Linked DNA regions of Homo sapiens: region 2 is linked to region 1. Evidence: promoter capture Hi-C in 16 types of primary human blood cells and fetal thymus (Javierre and others, 2016). All regions are on one chromosome and are shown on one strand. Each heading gives the region's core, a stretch centred on a gene start or on the middle of the fragment in contact. The rest is flanking DNA. Distances are from core to core; before and after follow the strand shown. Region 1 holds the start of SHC3 (SHC adaptor protein 3). Region 2 has its middle 57 kb from the start of NXNL2.

The links. The method cuts DNA at HindIII sites, captures the fragments that hold promoters and counts their contacts. A CHiCAGO score of 5 or more calls a contact.
Region 2: a contact is called between a fragment that was not itself captured here and the fragment with the promoter of SHC3 in region 1, in 2 of 17 cell types (M1 macrophages and endothelial precursors). The highest score is 5.9, in M1 macrophages.

What each region holds. Positions count from the first base shown.
Region 1 is chr9:89,176,560-89,182,476 of GRCh38, forward strand. It overlaps SHC3 (SHC adaptor protein 3), which reads right to left and starts at 2,259. Exons shown (of 12, transcript NM_016848.6): 1 at 1,428-2,259. The coding sequence starts at 1,901. The HindIII fragment of the contact is 3,060 bases long and covers 1-2,970 here.
Region 2 is chr9:88,589,365-88,595,051 of GRCh38, forward strand. No RefSeq gene overlaps it. Among named protein-coding and RNA genes, the nearest start is that of NXNL2, 57 kb to the left of the region's middle. RefSeq lists enhancers at 34-539, 4,537-4,696. The HindIII fragment of the contact is 2,446 bases long and covers 213-2,658 here.

The DNA of each region.
Region 1 (5,917 bases), core at 1,009-3,508:
GCTGTCAGGGATTTTTGGTTTGGTTTGTTTTTTTCTTTTTGTTTTGGCCCCTGGTTATATAATTTAAATAAGCAAAACAAGAAGAATATTCAGTACCTCTTAAAATAAACTCAACCAAATATGCATATATTATGCTCATCTATACCCCTTTGGTAAAATATAATAATCCATAGTTTGAAGGTTAAATTAAAAAGCAGACTGAAAAGGTGAAGAAGCCCTCTTTTAACAACAATGGCCACATTCATCTGTAAGTACTTTTTATATAGTTAAAGGCAATCCACAAAGTTAAGTATTTCTGTTAATATTTTGGTTCCGAAATTACCAGACACTGCATTTTACCTGAGGATGTGTTCTATTTAATTTTTACACTGGAATCTGCAGCCAATATTTACGGAACAGACATCCTGGGGGTTTCTCAGTGTTATTGAGGACACGGTGGGGATAGAGTTTGTGTCTCATTTCTTTCTCAATACAAAGCCATGCCTTGGAGTGGCAGGATTGAAATACTGCAACTTCCATCCTTAACCCCTGTCTGCTCGGCTGTGGAGGCTGTTAAAGCTCTGAGCTGCCCAACCGGCAGAAGGAAATAACCGCGTGGCAGATTACTTGAACTGTGCTGAGCATTTTTCCTTAAATATCATAACATGCTTGCATAAGGGTGGAATTTTATTGACTACATCGTGATTTTATCATCTTTGTGTTGGAGGAAAAAACTCCTTTCCAGCCTGTGGCTCCAAGCGCAGCGCCCTAGTTCCCTTTTAGCACATTTAAATGGAAGACTACAGTCACCAGAAAAATAGTCCCAGAATTCTCATTCCGCTGCTGTAAACCAGAACCTTTCCTTAGGGAATGAAAGACAAACCCCAAGAAAACCTGGACTGGGTGAGAAAGTAAAGCCCGTCGAAGAGAAAGCAGCACAGCATTTGGCCTGCTCTGCAAGGAGCTGGGAATTCTTGCTGCGGGGGGCAACAAGATACCCACCCTCCCGCCGGGGAAGACACAGCAGGAGTAGGGCCGCCACTCCGTGCATCTCTCCTCCCGGGGGCTGCCCAGCTCTCCCCAGCGCGTTTCCTAGATACTAGGCAGGCCGGACCCCCGCTGCCCAGGGTTGGGCGCCCATGACACTGGTCAGACATCTGGTAAGCCAGGTGGCAAAGGCGTGCCAAAAAAGTGGAGCCTAGGGAAAACCGGGACGGAGCGGGCCACCCGAGTGGTAAACCTTTTCCCAATGGATGCGGGAAAAGCGCATTTGTAGTTCCCTCCTCACCGCTGTCAAGCGAGCTGATTGCTAAGGAGTGCGCATTTGCTTGCCTCTAACGTGACAGTCGCGGGAGCGCCCCGCACCCCGGGCTTCAGGGAATGAAGGAGTCTGCCCCGAACTGGCCCCAGAACCCCCAGCCCCCAGGGCGGCCCGCGCCCGCACCCACCTTGACCACGTAGGTGACTCCGGGCCCCAGCACCTGGTCGCTGGCGTGCGGCGCCCCCCGAGGGGGCCTGGGCAGCGGCTCGTCGCCGGGCCGGCCCTTCCTGGCGGCGCTCATGGCCGGGGCGCGGGGCGCCGAGGGCGCACTGCCGTCCGGGGCGGCCAGGCTGGGCGCGCTGCAGCTGCCCGAGAGCCGCGCGCCCGCCCGCTCCCGGGCGGCCGACGACAGGCCGCGGAGGCCCGAGCTGGAGAGTTTCAGGTGGGACACCTTGTGGAGCAGGTGGCCCAGGCTGCCGGGCCCATCGTCGGGCGCCTTGCGCAGCGCCTCGCCGGACACCAAGTAGGGAGCCGCCGCCGGGGTCGCGCGCGCCGCCGAAACCTTGCCTCCGCCGCCGCTCACCGACAGGCTGTGGAGAAGGTCATCGACCGATGTCACCGAGTCATTCCTGAAGCGGTTATACTTGGTGCGTGGAAGCATGCCCCTCCGTGGGCTCGCTGCATCCGCCCGGGCGCTGCTGGTGCCGGCCCCGGCGCGGGCTGCCGCGCATAGCAGGCGAGCCACTGTCCCCGGAGCGGGACGGAGAGTGGGGGCCCCGGGACAGCCTTCTGGAGAACGAGAGCAGAGCAAGAGGATGGTGCCCTCCCACCGTTAAAAGCCAGCACAGCGGCGGCCGCGCAGCCCCGGCCCGGGAGACCGCTGCTTGGGGTTGCACGTTTGCTTTGCAAAAGTCATAGTTGCCTCTGATGGAGCGCCCAGCTGCTTGGGGCTGCTCACAGCAAAAGCATGACTCACTCTGAGAGGAGACCCTTCTCAACAAAGGCTCGGTGAGCACTGCAAATCACTTCCTGTAGCAGAAGAAAAAAAAGGAAAAAAAGAAGAAAAAAACGACATCCACCCGCTGACAGCACACTATAGCCAATCAATTCTCAAATTTCCTTTTTCTACCTTCCCAGATATTTCCTTCCAACCTTTGATTTTTCACCTTCCCATCCCCCGCAATCTGCATTTGTGCCAAAGGTAAATCCAATCCAGTTCCTTCAAATCGTCAAATGAACTTTCTGAAACCCATTATTCTGTTAGGTTTTGCTCGTCCCTGCTCAGCCCATCTGTGTGAGCCTGTAAAAGTGTCTAACAGCGATGCGTTAAAATGTGACGAAGGCTTTTTAAGAATCAGATCTTCAGCGAATCCTGATGAATCTTGACTTGGAAGGCAGCAGGAATTTTTAAATAGAAAAAAACAAAAAGGATATTCACCCCCAGGTGACTGTAAAATACCAATTTCCTGGGTTTTGCTTTTTCTTTTCAAATTAACAGAGCAGCGATGACAAGTGTCTTTGTGGCAATGCAGTTCCTCAAAAAAAAAAAAAAAAAAAAATCTGCATATGAACTTCTGCACAGTGCCAATCAAGGGGTCTTCCCTGCTCATTTACAGCAGTCTTTCTCAGCCAGGGTTAAGTTGAATATCCACTTCCAAAAAAGAAGAGTGCTTCTTTCACGAGTGGCAACAGGCTCCAGAAATCCATTCCAAAAAAGGGGCTGCATTTGAAGCTTTAATCCTACTGAATGTGTTTAAGCTCTGGAAAAACGCCTAAGAAATGCTACAAATACATTTCAATGTTCCTTCAGTTGCTGCTTGCAACCCTGCAGTCAGGAAGGAAAAAATGCAGCTGTTCTTATTGCACATCAAATCCACAAGGAGGAAAATATGCCTTCTTTTCAGGAGTCAGGCTCGGGCTTGCAAGTAAAATGCACAGGCCTTCTTCCTCTCAGTTAGGAGAGCAAGGCTTTCGCTGTCCCCAGAGGTCTGCCCGAGACTGAAGCCCTCTGACTCTTGACCTCAGTGGGCTCTGCCAGGCTTCCTCATGCATTAGGATCACCTGCTCCACAGTGAAACACTCACTATCAAAGTTTTCCCGCAACTTCTGAGCAAGCGAATAAATTCAGCTCTAGCACACTCTCAGGTCACCCTGAGTCCTCTCACTCCCATGACCGAACATGTGGGGCACGTGAGGTCCTGAGTCTTGAACCCTGCTCTATGGAGCAGAGTTTAATGAGCGCCACTCATGGCGGGCGAGCGGGTGAGGCCAACCCCTAGGACGCAAGAGCGCAGAGGAGCCGCGGCGTCCCCGGTACAGGAAACGCGTCCCCACGGCTCGCCTCCTGTGCCGCAGCCCTAGCAGAACAGCTACACGGCACTCATTTGTTCCCTTTCCCTAGCTTGCATAGCAACAGCAATTGCACACCCCATAGATGATTTTGATGGTTATCAGAGTCCTCCCCAGATCTGTAGCGAAACAGCCCTATCATTCCCAAAGCGAGATCTTCATTAGATGCAGACAAAAACCGCAAAATGTGAATGAAATGCTGTTTGTGTGAATGAAAAGGCTAGCGAGCGAGCCAGCGTTTCTGTGAATGAAGCAGGGCCTTGCAGCCGGTGCCAGGCAATCCCCTGGGCTCCAGCGGCCTCAGCCAATGAGCGGCCGCCCCGATGACTCATTCAACAAAGGCTTGCTCAATAGTGGAAGATTCCATTTCAATCAAAGGCGGGATCTTTTATCCAACGGCAGTGTGGGAAAAAAAAAAAGAAAAAGAAAAAAAAACACCCAGCCGGATTACAAAGATACCGGGAGGAAGAGGCCAGCTGCTATGGAGAGGAAAAGCTAGTTTTACAAGGGAATTCAAGATCCCTTGGTCAGGTCTAAGTGTGAAGAGGGTCTCTCTTGGAGGTGAGCTGTGCCCCTAAACTTTCATTCAGCCGTTCATTTACATCAAGGAGCAACCATGAATGTGCCAGTCGTTCAGCTTTTATTATGAATGTACATTGAATGCACGTTCAAAACCTAGGTTCCTAGCCCTTGATTCTTTTTTTGTAAAAGGCATGTAGGACACCTGTACACGTTCTGAGGCTCCAGGGAGGAAAAAAAATCCAAAGCTATGTACTTAACGTTTAGCCAACAGGAGACTTTTATTTCTTTTATTATGAGGCCAGTGGAGGGAAATTGGTCATTTTAAAATATAAATAGCAACATAAATTTACTATATATGAAAAGATATATAATCAAAGACAGAAATTAATATTCCAAGAACACAGTAGTACGGTAAAACCTCACTTACCTGGAAAATAGTATCAACATTTTGGAACGTAGCAGAAAGATGGAAAAAGAAAAACCCGAAGGCCTCTCAGCATCAAAAGGAGGCTGTGCAGCCCACACAGAAGCTCACACACCCTACTCATGAGAAAACCCTTTGCCCTTTCTGGGGAGCTGTTCATGTTTATTTTAGACCCTGTACCAGAAAGCCCACATATCTTCTTGATCAACATAGAGACAGATGAGAGAGGAGACCACTGGGACAGAAAATGCTAAATGTAAATGAAATTTTCTGTTGCTGGCTTGCTTGATAGCCATGGAAGGAAGCAGGAAAAAAAAACTCCATTTTAAAGTCAGCCTTGAGATTCACCAAAGCCAGGCAGTCTGGGGCAATTTACAATGAGAGCCTTTCCAGTATGTTGTGGTTTTTCTTTTTTAAATCAATGCTTAAACACGTATTTGCTTTCTATGGCTGCCGTAACAAATGACCACAAAATCAATGGCTTAGAATAACACAATTTATTATCTTCCAGTTTGTAGGTAAGAAGTCCAAATGGGTCATGCTGGGATCCAGCATGGGTGTGGGCCGAGCTGGTTCCTCTGGAGGCTCTGAGGGAGAATCCACAAATTTCTGAGAAGGTGCCATGAGCTGGGCCCTGGGGAAAGTGGTTTTGCCTTCTGGAAGGCAGAAGATCTGAAATTAATGTTATAACCTAGTTAAGACTATGTGAATTTTGTAATATGTGTGAGATACAAAAACTTGACCAAAGGAGTGAGCTTGTCCTGAGGATGCGGAGGTGACCCCTGACCCCAGTGGAGGCATCCTCCAGGTGACTTCACAGGAGGAAACTGTGTGGGCAAGGGCTCCAGGCCTGAGCAGTCCAGAGTCTCCCAGAATCCCTGGTAGGTTGGTTGGGTTGGTGAGGAGGTCAGGAGGCTGGGCACTCATAAAGGCTTAGAGGGGTGATGAGGTTTGGATGTGTGTCCCCTCCAAATCTCATGTTGAAATGTGACCCTCAGTGTTGGAGGTGGGGCCTGGTGGGAGGTGACTGAATCATGGGGGTGGATCCCTCATGAATAGCTTAGCACCATTCCCTTGGTGATAAGTGAGTTCTTGCTCTGAGCTTACATGAGATTTGCTTGGATAAAAGAATATGGCGGCCTGGTGTGGTGGCTCATGCCTGTAATCCCAGCACTTTGGGAGGCCGAGGTGATGGATCACCTGAGGTCGGGAGTTCGAGACCAGCCTGGCCAACAGGTGAAACCCCATCTCTACTAAAAATACCAAAACTAGCCGGGCATGGTGGCAGGCCCCTGTAATCACAGCTACTCGGGGGGCTGAGGCAGGAGAATCGCTTGAACCCGGGACGAGGAGTTTGCAGTGAGCCGAGATCGCACCATCGC
Region 2 (5,687 bases), core at 186-2,685, 590 kb before region 1:
CTGGAACAGTGTGAGCGGAGGGGTGGGGGGTATCATTTTCACTTGGTTCCATGGAGAAACCTCAAGGGAAACTGAACTTGGGCTCCAAATCTTAGTTTGTTCTACCACTCCGTAGCCTTTTCTGTTGACCCCATGTCCTGCTAGGATACTTTTGTGTCCCAGGATTTGCTCTGGTGTGACAAGAGGGCCAGAGTTAAACAGAGGAGCAGAGAAGCTTAAAAACTGGAACGTTCCCAGGGATGGTGCCAAGGTTGGTAAGCAAGGTTGAAAATGGGGCTGTGCACACACAGGGTACAGGGGAGAGGCTCCAGTTTCCTCTTCTCTGCAGGAACTAGAAACCAGCTTTAAATGTGCCCCTTGCCACATGCACACCTGTGATGCCTCCAGAAGTCCCCACTGGCCTGGCCTTGTGTAGGGGTGTGTAGACACGCCTCTCACATACCCTGTCCCCCTGGGGTGAGCCTGGCTGAGGGCAGGGCTGAGCGTGGTGTGGGGCAACCCCAGCATCACCCCTGTTCTAGATGCTTTCAGGGAGGGTGGCCCTGCAGGGATCAGAGGGCTGGCACACACAGGCTCCAGAATCAATGCAAGGCAGTGGGGAAGACCTCTCAAATTTCTTGCGAGCCACCCACTGTGCCCATCTGAGGACAAGGCCCAGCAGGGAGCCACTGGCCCCACTGCCTTGCCTGTGCCCCACTGTACATTGACACTTGGAATAGGGCATGGCTGTCACCTCACTTATTTTTACTATTTCCTCTTGATAGAGGCAGGAGGCAGAGAAACTCTAGACAGACAGGAGTTGGTCCCTGGTGAAGCCCCACTTTCAAGCCAAAAAGCCTGACACCCACGGCTTAAAGTGAGAACTTCCGTCCCTCTTTGCCTACTCTCTCCCTATTAGTTTTTTCTGAGTAATGTGTTTTTTCCATTTGAATGTTGCCTTTTCCAAAACTACTTATGGCCTGCCCCACCCCCCATCCTGTGCTTATAAGGACCCCAGATTTAGCTGGTAGAGAGAAGCAGCTGTACTTCAGAGAGAGGCAACTTGATTTCAGAGGAGGGAGGCAGAGAGGCTGCTTGACTTCAGGGGAGAGTGACCTGTCCTTTCCATCCCCTTTCCAGTTCCACTCTCTGCTGAGAGCCACTCTCATCACTCAATAAAATTTCCACATTCATCATCCTTCAATTTGTTCATGTGACCGCATTCTTCTTGGAACTGGACAAGAATTCAAGACCTACCAAATGTGGGTACCAAAAAGGCTGTCACACTGGCCCTTTGCCCTCACTGGTGGAGGGCAGCTGCCCCACGCAGCGAGACAAAAGGCCCACTGAGCTGATAACACACTGCTGTCTGTGGACAGTAGAACTAAGTATTGCAACATGCCCTCTGGGGCCTTGGGATCGCAGGCGCCCCCACCTGGATGCTGACGCAGGGCCTGCACTGAGTTTTCTCTGCTGGCGCCAAAATGGCCAGCTGGTTCCTGCATTGGCTTGCCTACTCGCTCCCTCTGGCAAGAAATGGAGTGTGGTGGGCTGGAGTAAACCGAGTTTGCTCTTGTCTGCACAGAAGCCAGAATTGGCGGGCTGGTTCCTGCACTGGTTCGCTCATGTGCTCCCTCCTGCGAGGGGTTGAGCATGGTCAGCTGAGTAAAAGGGGCACCCTTCTCGTGAGTCCTGCAAAAGGGTCAAGAAAATATCCTGCCTCACTCTCATCCATGTCCCCTGGAGAGCATGCACCTCCAATGCCGATGCTCTCTTGGGAGCAGGAAGAGGGAAAGTGAATCAGGAATATTGGGTGATTTTAGCCTTTGGTCAGACATACTTTATGGCAAATTTCCACCAAAGAGGCAATTTCAACAAATACAATATTCTGTGGCAGACACTGCTTCTTTCTCTAATTCGCATAACACTAAGAAAACATTTCCCTCTATTAATGGAGATAGGAAAGAGACAGATAATGGATCCACTGGCAAGGCGTGGCTGCCCTCCACACTATTGATTTTTCTAGCCATGAAGTTGTCTCAGGCCAAATGCAGTCAGCTGAGAGGCAGTAATGGAGGGGGAAAGGGTCTATCGTGTGTATATGTAATGCATGCTGCTAAGTTGATGAATCTTTTGGAAGGACTCTGTTTGCTGTGGAAAATAGGCCAGGGTATGCAGGCCATCAACTGCGTGGAAGATTTCATTAGAAACAGAAATTCTCCACTCAATGTGGGCATCGTTTTCTGCCTGCCGACTCTGTGGCTTCCTGGCAAGGCCAGTGAATGAGGACCCTGCAGCAGCTGCGCACATTTCGACAACAGTATTTTGTTGAGTCTCAACACAGAATTCTTTCATTCTTTAACACAAATTCTGAAATTGAGATGGGCCTTACTATTAGCAGCAAAATAGACTTGCTTGGTTCCAGGCAGAGGATGGAGCTCAGAAGCTGTGTCGTTGCTGTGAGGACACGAACGTGCCATACATATGACTGTGGACCAGCTCCCTTCGTGTGGGCAGCGTTGCAACTGGCGGCATTGTAGTTCAACTTTGTGCTCTTTACTTTGACCTAATGTGTCATCACAAAACCCCACTATAAAATTATGTAGCTATACTTTGTTGTAAGTTAAAAATTATATGTTGTACATACAATTTATCTGTTTTTATATAAAATAAAAGTTAAGCTTCACGGAGGAAATTGCCTGCTGTGTTCCAGCCAGGAGAGCTCAAGAACCTCCCTGCGCTTTGCAATGAGTGAGGGGCACCTTATGGTCCACTGAAAAGCAGAGTTTCCAAGTCAGGAACAACTCTCTGTTAAGAAGAGGGCTCACGTTTGAAGGAAACTCATCTAACAGTCACATAGGATAACTGTGACTTAACCAAGTGGCAAATGAGCATGAGGTCCTGGCATTTTTGAGGTATGTTTTGAAATAATTTCTATCCATGTAGGACAGGGTTCTTTTATTTTTTTATTTTATTTTATGTTTTTAGGTTCAGGGAGCATGTATGTGGGTTTGTTACATGGATAAATTGCATGTTGCTGAGGTTTGGGGGTGAGTACTACCATGATATCATCACCCAGGCAGTGAGCATAGTACCTGATAGGTAGTTTTTTGTGTTTTTTTTTTCAACTTTTATTTTAGGTTTAGGGCTGGATTACAAAAAAATCACTGGTGGGTTCTATGCTTAGTACCTGGGTGACAAAATAACCTGTATACCAAACCCCTGTGCACGAGTTTACCTGTATAATGAACCTGCAGCAATGGGCACACAGAGGGGAACAACATGTAGGACAGAGTTCAAACCTTAAGGGATCAGGAGCAGGAGCAAGAGTTGGTAAAAATAAAAATAAAAGTCTACCATCTGCGGCTGGGTGAAAGGTCAGTGGGCCGGGGCATTCCCAAACTATTCAAACTCATTCTCAGGACTCGGCTGCCAGCAGAGGAAGGATATTATTGTCAGTTGTGTGCGTGTTTCAGTGTTGTGTTTTCCCTCTCAACCCCCGAAAAGCTGATCTCAGGAGGAGCTGGGGAGCTCTGGGCTCTCCTAGACCAGTCTGAGGATGCCACATAATACAGAGTTTTGGGCTTTTGGAAAGACACCGAGATGCGCTCTGCGAAGCCTTCTCAGCCCTGATCAGTGGCACATGGAGGACGCTGACCCAGGCAGCACAAGCCTGCCGGCAGCCTCTTTCCATGCAGCGCTGTAATTTCTAAAGAAGGGAATCCGCACGGTGAGACTTGGGTGTATAAGGCATTCTGGGGTTGAAAAATCGAAAATCATGATTAAAAATGACCTATCGGCATCTGTGCAGAGCCTGTAGACTGGCACTGGGGGCTATGTGTCACCTCGGCCCATTGGATCTTATTGATTTGTCTGGTCATTCAGCCTCTGGTCGTTCAAGCCCAGGGCAGGCAGCTCAGCAGGAGCAACAATGGTGAGTGTGGGGTGCACACCTCTGCAGGTCAGGCTTCTAGGGCAAAAGGGAATTCCAAAAGCCTTTGCCTAAGACACTCTCAGAGTAACTGATTCACAGACAAAGATGAGATTGCTAACATTTTTATTCTTGTGATTTCGTGAAGCAGGAACAAGTGCAGGTAATTCTGCAGGCTCAGGACTCTGAACGAATCTCCACTGGGGATACAGGTACACATTCCATCTGCATCTTTCAGGCAGACAAGGGGAATGAGCAAGGAAATTCTCTGCCTTTGAAAAAAAATGCACCTACAAAAAGGTGCAAAAGCTAACAAAGAAACAAAAAAACAAGCAAAAAACAAAGACAAACCTGGTTCTGTGTCAAGGCTTTGCAAATGCCAAATGGAAAGTTGGTTTTTCTTTGCAGCTCCCTGCAGCCTCCTCCACCTGCCCAGAAGCTCTAGAGACACTGCCTGGGACAGATTCTTGGCAGGTGGGATTTGTGGGGCACCGTGGTTCTCTTTTGCCCCTGGAAATGGTAGGCTGTGCTGGGGAAGAGAACGTGTAGGTCCTCAGGGTCTTTGCTTTCTTGAGGAAAAAAATGACTCAGCTTTCTTGGTGGTTAGAGCCCACATAATTTCATTTCAAGGGCTTGTTTTATATGTGGGAAAATTGCACATACACCCAATATACGATTGTTGAGGGTTTTTATAGATCCCCTTCACCACCAGGGGGCCCATAACTCCAGGTTAAGAATACCCCGAGAGAAAATTTTGCAGAGTGCAGGAAATGAAACCAAACCATATTTCCACAGACACCACAGTTAATATTTTGCTTTTCTTTTCAGTCTTTCTCAAAAGTTTATGCTTTCAAAAAGCCCTTTTCCATAAAAATTATTCACAAACTCTTTTTTGATGGCTACATAATACTCCGTCTCCAAATCATAGTTTACTGTTGGATTTTTAGGCTGTTCCCATTTTTTGACCATTAGAAACAGCACTCTTGTCATCACTGTGTGGATATAATTTTGTCTCTTTTTCATTTAATTTCCCTTGCATATACTTTTAGAAGTGGAACGACTAGGTCAGAGATTTAAATAATTTTTAATTTCTTGATACACATTGTTAAATTCTCATTTTCAGATATGTTGTCCCAATTCTCAATTTCAACAATAGTAGAGTGAGTGGAGTGGGCTTCCTATGCCATCCTTGCTGTCATAGACTGCTAGCATTTTCAATGTTTACAATTTCTTGGGTAAAACATGCCATTCCAGTGTGGCTCAAATCTGAACTTCTTTAATGACTGTGAGCGCAAACATTCATACAGGCACTTGTTTGCATATTTGTTTCTTCTTTTTTGAAGGTTCTGTCTCTTGTTTATTTTTTTCTTTTCTTTTCTTTTTCTTTGAGACAGGGTCTTGCTCTGTTGACCAGGCTGGAGTGCAGTGGCACCATCTCGGCTTACTGCAACCTCTGCTTTCCTGAGCTAAAGTGATTCTCCCATTTCAGCCTCCTGAGTAGCTGGGACTACAGGTGTGCACCACCATGCCTAGCTAATTTTTGTATTTTTAGTAGAGACAGGGTTTTGCCATGTTGACCAGGCAGGTCTTGAACTTCTGGGCTCAAGCAATCCTCCTGTCTCAGCCTCCCAAAGTCTTGGGATTACAAGCATGAGCCACCACACCTGGCCTATTTTACAATTAGGGTTTTCTCACCAAATTTGTGAGTTCTTGAAATATTATAAATAAACTTTCTCCTATTTGATGTCAACATTTCCCCTTTTGCTTACTGCATTAT